2 separate regions of the Homo sapiens genome follow, and region 1 is linked to region 2. The links are contacts of gene promoters, found by promoter capture Hi-C in blood cells and fetal thymus (Javierre and others, 2016). All regions are on one chromosome and are shown on one strand. Each heading gives the region's core, a stretch centred on a gene start or on the middle of the fragment in contact. The rest is flanking DNA. Distances are from core to core; before and after follow the strand shown.

What was found. Contacts are between HindIII fragments. The CHiCAGO score rates a contact against its expected background, and 5 or more counts as called.
Region 1: a fragment that was not itself captured here is called in contact with the fragment with the promoter of CD1A in region 2 in 1 of 17 cell types (fetal thymus); the score reaches 6.6 in fetal thymus.

Annotation. Positions count from the first base shown.
Region 1 is chr1:158,294,822-158,297,944 of GRCh38, forward strand. It overlaps a transcript of CD1B not described here. Among named protein-coding and RNA genes, the nearest start is that of CD1C, 6.5 kb to the left of the region's middle. The HindIII fragment of the contact is 3,555 bases long and covers 1-3,123 here.
Region 2 is chr1:158,252,807-158,255,814 of GRCh38, forward strand. CD1A (CD1a molecule) reads left to right here and starts at 1,618. Exons shown (of 6, transcript NM_001763.3): 1 at 1,618-1,921; 2 at 2,278-2,544. The coding sequence starts at 1,864. The HindIII fragment of the contact is 5,152 bases long and covers 1-3,008 here.

The DNA of each region.
Region 1 (3,123 bases), core at 421-2,920, 42 kb after region 2:
TGCTGCTCAGTGTATTAGTAACCATTCCTTTTCATTGCTGAATAGAATTCCATGTATGAATATAACTTTTTTTGGAGGAGGAGGTGGCTTCCCAGATCTGGCAGGGCCTTTGTCTCCTTGTGCCCACTCACCCAGCTTGGGTCCTGCTTCCATTGCTCATTTCCTTGGCACCAGGAGGCCCTAGGTGACTCTCCTGCACCCTTAGTCACCCTGTGACCTGCAGATACAGAGAGATCAATAGAGAGGATTCTAGGACACCCAGGAAACTGGGAAATAAAGCCAAAAATATATAAAATTAAACTTATTTTTGGGAGAAGAGACAAGATGGCTGACTAGATGCAGCCAGGAAGAGCTTCTCCCACCAAGAGACAAGACCATCAAGAAGAGCAGTATACTCTGAGAAGATCATTGGAAAGAAGGCATTGAGAGTGGATGGAGGGAGAATGCAGACCCTGGGCTGAAGGGGGGAAGAAGCTGCGAACCCTACACAGGGTTGCCAAACACTAGGACTTATTCTTGGTCCTCAGTGGCTTCTAGGGAAGGGGTTGGTTAAATAGGCATGAAGTGGCCCACTCTATCCATGAACCTCTGGAATCCTAGCTGCAGGAGACCCCCACGACCCACACAGACATTTGAGTTGGCAGGGAAAGCTACTTGCAGAGTTGGCAGGGACAGGACTCCAGCTTCTATGGAACCCAGAGGGTTTGGTGTGAGAACAGCTACAGTGGAGCATGGTTAGGGATGTCCATTACCCGAGGATTGGCATGCTCCTCTAGGTGGCTTTGACCCCTTTGTTGACTATCAGACCTGGACAGAATAGGGCTACCATGATATTTGGATGGGGCTAGACTGATCTGAGCCCCCCACCCCATGTCTGCTGGCCTCTCCCAGGATCCCTGCCTGTCTGTACCTGCTTGCAGCACAGCCTCAGATGTTCAACTGAGGCAGTTCTCAGAGACCACTGCCATAGGTCTTTCACTGGCTGACCCCACCAAACCACCAAATAGCTTCTGTCACTGGCCTCACATCAGCATGCACCTGCCTTCAGCACCCACAACTGCTTTGCTGGCATACATACACAGACATCACTGCCTTGCTACCACTTCTGTGCACATATGCATGGAGACCTCACCACTGCTGCACTGTCCCCACTAGCCTACATGCGTGCATGTACCCTGCCACACTACCATCCCTGGTGTACATGTGCATGGACCTTCTACCCTGCTGCCCCACCACCACCAGCATGTGAGTGAGTGTGGACCCCACCATGCCACTGCCCCACTGCTGCCAGTACATGCATGTGAGAGCAGACCCCCACCGCCACTGCCCTTATGAAATGCTTTTCTGGGACCCCCCCACCCTGCCCACCATAGGAGTGTTGTTGCTAGTGGACTGGGAGCACCTTGGCCCCCTCCAGTGAAGCAGGTGCTCAGTCTCAAGGGGCCAAAGAACAAGGTTCTGGGCCTGGTCCCAGGCCCTCAGTCTTAGAGCATATAGCCCAGGAGTGCTGAGCTGAGCCATGGCCCCCTGAAATCATCAAGAAATAAAGCTAGCTCACTGACCCAAACCTATACCATAGTCAAAGCCTCAAGGGCATCAAAGAATATAAAAGCAAAAGGCCCCATCAAAAGGACAGCAACTTTAAACGTTTAAGGAACATCAGCCCACATAGATGAGAAAGAACCCGTGGAAGAACTCAGGCAGCTCTAAAAGTCAGAGTGTCTTCTTACTTCCAAATGAACACACTAGCTCCCCAACAATCTTTCCTAACCAGACTAAAATGGCTGAGATAATAGACATAGATTTTAGAATCTGGATGGCAATGAAAATCATGAGATTCAGGAGAAAGTTGAAATGGAATCCAAAGAATTTAAGGAATCCAGTAAAATAATACAATAACTGAAAGACAAAATAGCCATTTTAAGAAAGAACTAAGCTGATTTGACAGAGCTAAAAAATTCACTAAAGAATTTTATAATACAATTGGAAGTATTAAAGGCAGAATAGACCACACTGAGGGAAGAATCTCAGAGCTCAAAGACCAGTTCTTCTAATTAACTCAGTCACACAAAATAAAGAAAAAATAATACAGAAGGATGAACAAAATCTCTGAGAAATATGAGGTTATGTAAAGAGACCAAACCTGTACTCACTGATGTCCCTGAAAGAGAGAGAGAGAGAGTGTGCAAACAATTGAAAACATATATGAGGATATTGTCCATGACAATTTTCTCAACTTCACTATAGAGGTCAACATTCAAATTCAAGAAATTCAGAGAACTCCTGAGAGATACTACACTAGAAAACCATCCTCAAGATACACAATAATAAGATTATCCAAGGTCAATGTGAAAGAAAAAAATACTAAAGGCAACCAGAGAGGAGGAGCAGGTCACCTACAAAGGGACCCCAATCAAGCTAACAGCATACCTTTCAGCAGAAACCTTAGAAGCCAGAAGACATTGAGGGCCTATATTCAGCATTGTTAAAGAAAAGAAATTCTGACCCAAAATTTCATATCCAGCCCAAGTAAGATTTATATGTTAAAGAGAAATTCAGCAAAGCAAATGCTAAGGAAATTTATTACCACCAGACCTGCCTTATAAGAAGTCATTAAGGGAGTGCTAAACATGGAAATAAAAGACTCTTACCAGCCACCACATAAATGCACTTAAGTAAACAGACCAGTGACACTATAAAGGAACTACACAATTAAGTCTACATAACAACCAGCTAACAATAATGACAAAATCAACTTCTCACTTATCAATATTTACCTTGAAGGTAAATGAGCTAAACACCCCAAGACACAGAGTGGCAAGTTGAATAAAGAAACAAGACCCTGGCTCATGCCTGTAATCCTAACACTTTGAGGCTAAGGCAGGCCGATTGCTTGATCCTATGAGTTTGAGACCAACCTAGGCAACATGGAAAAACCCCATTTCTACAAAAAAACCAAGAAAATTAGCTAAGAATGGTGGCACATGCCTGTAGTCCCAGCTACTGAGGAGGCTGAGGTAGGAGGATCACCCAAGCCTGGGGAGGTGGAGGCTGCAGTAAGTTGTGATCATGCCACTGCACTTCGGCCTAAGTAACAGAGTGAGACCCTGTCTCACGTTAAAA
Region 2 (3,008 bases), core at 368-2,867:
ACAATTGCTTTAACCTGGGAGGCAGAGGTTGCAGTGAGCTGAGATCATGCCACTGAACTCCAGCCTGGGTGACAGAGTGAGACTCTGTCTCAAAACAAAACAAAACAAAACAAAACAAAAAACAAATAAAAAAATTATTTGCAGGCCATGCCTGGTGGCTCATGCCAACAATCCCAGCACTTTGGGAGGCTGACACAGGAGGATTGCTTGAGGCCGGGAGTTGGAGGTTACAGTGAGCTATGATTATTCCACTGCACTCCAGCCTGAGTAACAGAGTGAAACCCTGTCTCAAGAAAAAAAATTTTTTCCCCCTAAATTAGCTTCAGATACTTTTTTTTTGAAAACCAAAAAATAGTAAATAGCCCAGACACATTTATATGGATGATATCTACAAAGCACAAACATATATTTAGAAGCCCTTCAACAGTTACAAGCAGCGTAAAAGAGGAATGTAAATGTGTCCGGCAAAGACTCATTTATAACAAAACAACCCTGAAACATCCAAATAGGACTAATAAAAAGGGATCCTGGGATAAAGACTTTGGAATACTCCATTAACTTCACTGCTCACAAGTTCTGACTAGTTTCTTATAAGTAATAGGACATTTATAGCAGGATCTTTTATGTAAATCTCATGCCAGTAACTTGTACTTTTATCCTAAATAAAACTGTATGAGATTCTCATCTCACTACATAGGGTTACAAGTAACTTTTATGATATCTTTAAAAAGTTTCATGTTGAATATCACCTCCATAATTAAAAAATGGATGCATAGACTGAATTCATTCATTCATTTGACAAATATTCACTAAGCACCTACCACTTGTGAGATACTCTGTTAGGTGGGGATACAGTATGATAACTGTATGGAACTAACACTCCAAGTCAAACATTGAAGTCAAAATTCTGGGCTGGCGTACATTAGTTAGGAGCCCCCATTTTAGAAAATATTATTTCAAGCAGGCCTTGTTTTTATCCAGAGAGTGTATACAGTATAATAAAACTCAGTACACCAAGATTTATATTTCATGGCGTGTTTTTCTCCCTAAGTAGAGAAAAAGCTCCTTCAGTAAAGTGATTGTGTTGTCAACCACTGCATATTCTTAAGTGTACCAAGATGCTTGACTCCAGGCAGGTGCTAAGAGAGACTGTTGGGTGAGTGAATGTATATCAATGAAAATCAAACAGAGGAAATTTTCTTTATATGTTTTAGTGTTCCTGTGGTTTTTTTTTTTTTTTTTTTTTTTTTTTTTTTTTTTTTTTTTGTGATGGTTACTGGCTCTTCTCTAAGAATAATGGAGAAAAGGTGTTAGTTTGTACTGTCGCACAGGGCAGTCGTAGGAGACTCTGAAAAAGCAAATAAATCAATGTTAAATCAGAAATGTGAATGTAGTAAGGGGCTGAAGAGACAGGGGAAGAGAATACATGGGAAAATATTGAAAAGGACAGAGTGATCAAAAAGAGCAGGGACATGGGAGCATTGGGCAGCACACTGGGAGCCATTTCACTTTATGCTCTTATTGTATGATTGAGAAAAAAATGTCCTTAGTGGTTAAGTGGCTTTTCAATGCCACATCAGACTTGTTCCATAGCAGTTGAATTAGGGGAAGGTGAATAAGTTGGAGGTTGGTGACAAGGAGAGAAGCTGGAACAGAGAGGAGAGTCAGAACCAGAGGGAAATGAGAGACTGAGTAGGCATCTCAGGGTTTTTGAAGGAGTGGATTTTCTTTGTTGCAGTCAGGGGAGGTTTGTCTGTTGGCTGCAGAAAGAAGTCAGAATAGAGATATCGTGGGGTAGGTTTGTTTGGAACAGAAATCAAAGACCAATTTTTCTGAGAGAAGGAAATAACATCTGCAAATGATATGCTGTTTTTGCTACTTCCATTGTTAGCTGTTCTCCCAGGTGATGGCAATGCAGACGGTAAGAACTCTGACAACTGCCCAGTTGGGTGGTGGGTGAAGGTCTCTCTCTCTCTCTCTGTGTGTGTGTGTGTGTGTGTGTGTGTGTGTGTGTGTGTGTGTGTGTGGTTTCCCTAGCATATACCTGGAAAGTGAGAGTGCCAGGCTGGTTCCATTCTGACTATCCATGACTCCAGGTCCCTGAGCTCTTATGAAGGTGGTTGATAAGGCATGGGACTGTGTGGCAAGTGAATGTCTGCTAAGATCATGATGGATCCCCTTTTCTCCAGATTCTGAGTTCCCGCACTCTGGCACCTTTCTCTCTCCATCCTCTTTCTCAATGTCTTTCTCCCCATTCTATCTGTTCTTTTGTCGCAGGGCTCAAGGAGCCTCTCTCCTTCCATGTCACCTGGATCGCATCCTTTTACAACCATTCCTGGAAACAAAATCTGGTCTCAGGTTGGCTGAGTGATTTGCAGACTCATACCTGGGACAGCAATTCCAGCACCATCGTTTTCCTGTGCCCCTGGTCCAGGGGAAACTTCAGCAATGAGGAGTGGAAGGAACTGGAAACATTATTCCGTATACGCACCATTCGGTCATTTGAGGGAATTCGTAGATACGCCCATGAATTGCAGTTTGAATGTGAGTTCAGTTTTCTCCATGGAGAGTGGTGAGGTGGGAGAGAGGGGTTGTCTCAATGTTTCTTATTCCTTTAGGAAACAGCCTGACTCTCTTCTGTATCTTATTCTATTCTTTCCACCATAAAACTGCAATTGCATACTTTTGGGCAAGGGCTATCATCCAGACCTTAATTCTCCAAACACTTCTGCTACTTATGAACTCCTCTCTCATTGATTGCAGGGTTGTGCATTATTATCTTTTCTTACAGGTATCCCAGGACCACCCTTCTGCCTGCCCTACAACCAGATACCTTCAGCTTTCTCACTTTCTCATTCATTCTCTTCAGCAGTCTCTCTATATATACTCAATTGTAACCCATTGCATTTAATTCAACCTAAGTTGTTATAATCCCAGTTCTCTTACACCAGGTCCTTGCTCACCCACAGCATTCACATCACCTTCTTTGACCAGTTTGCCCTCTTCCT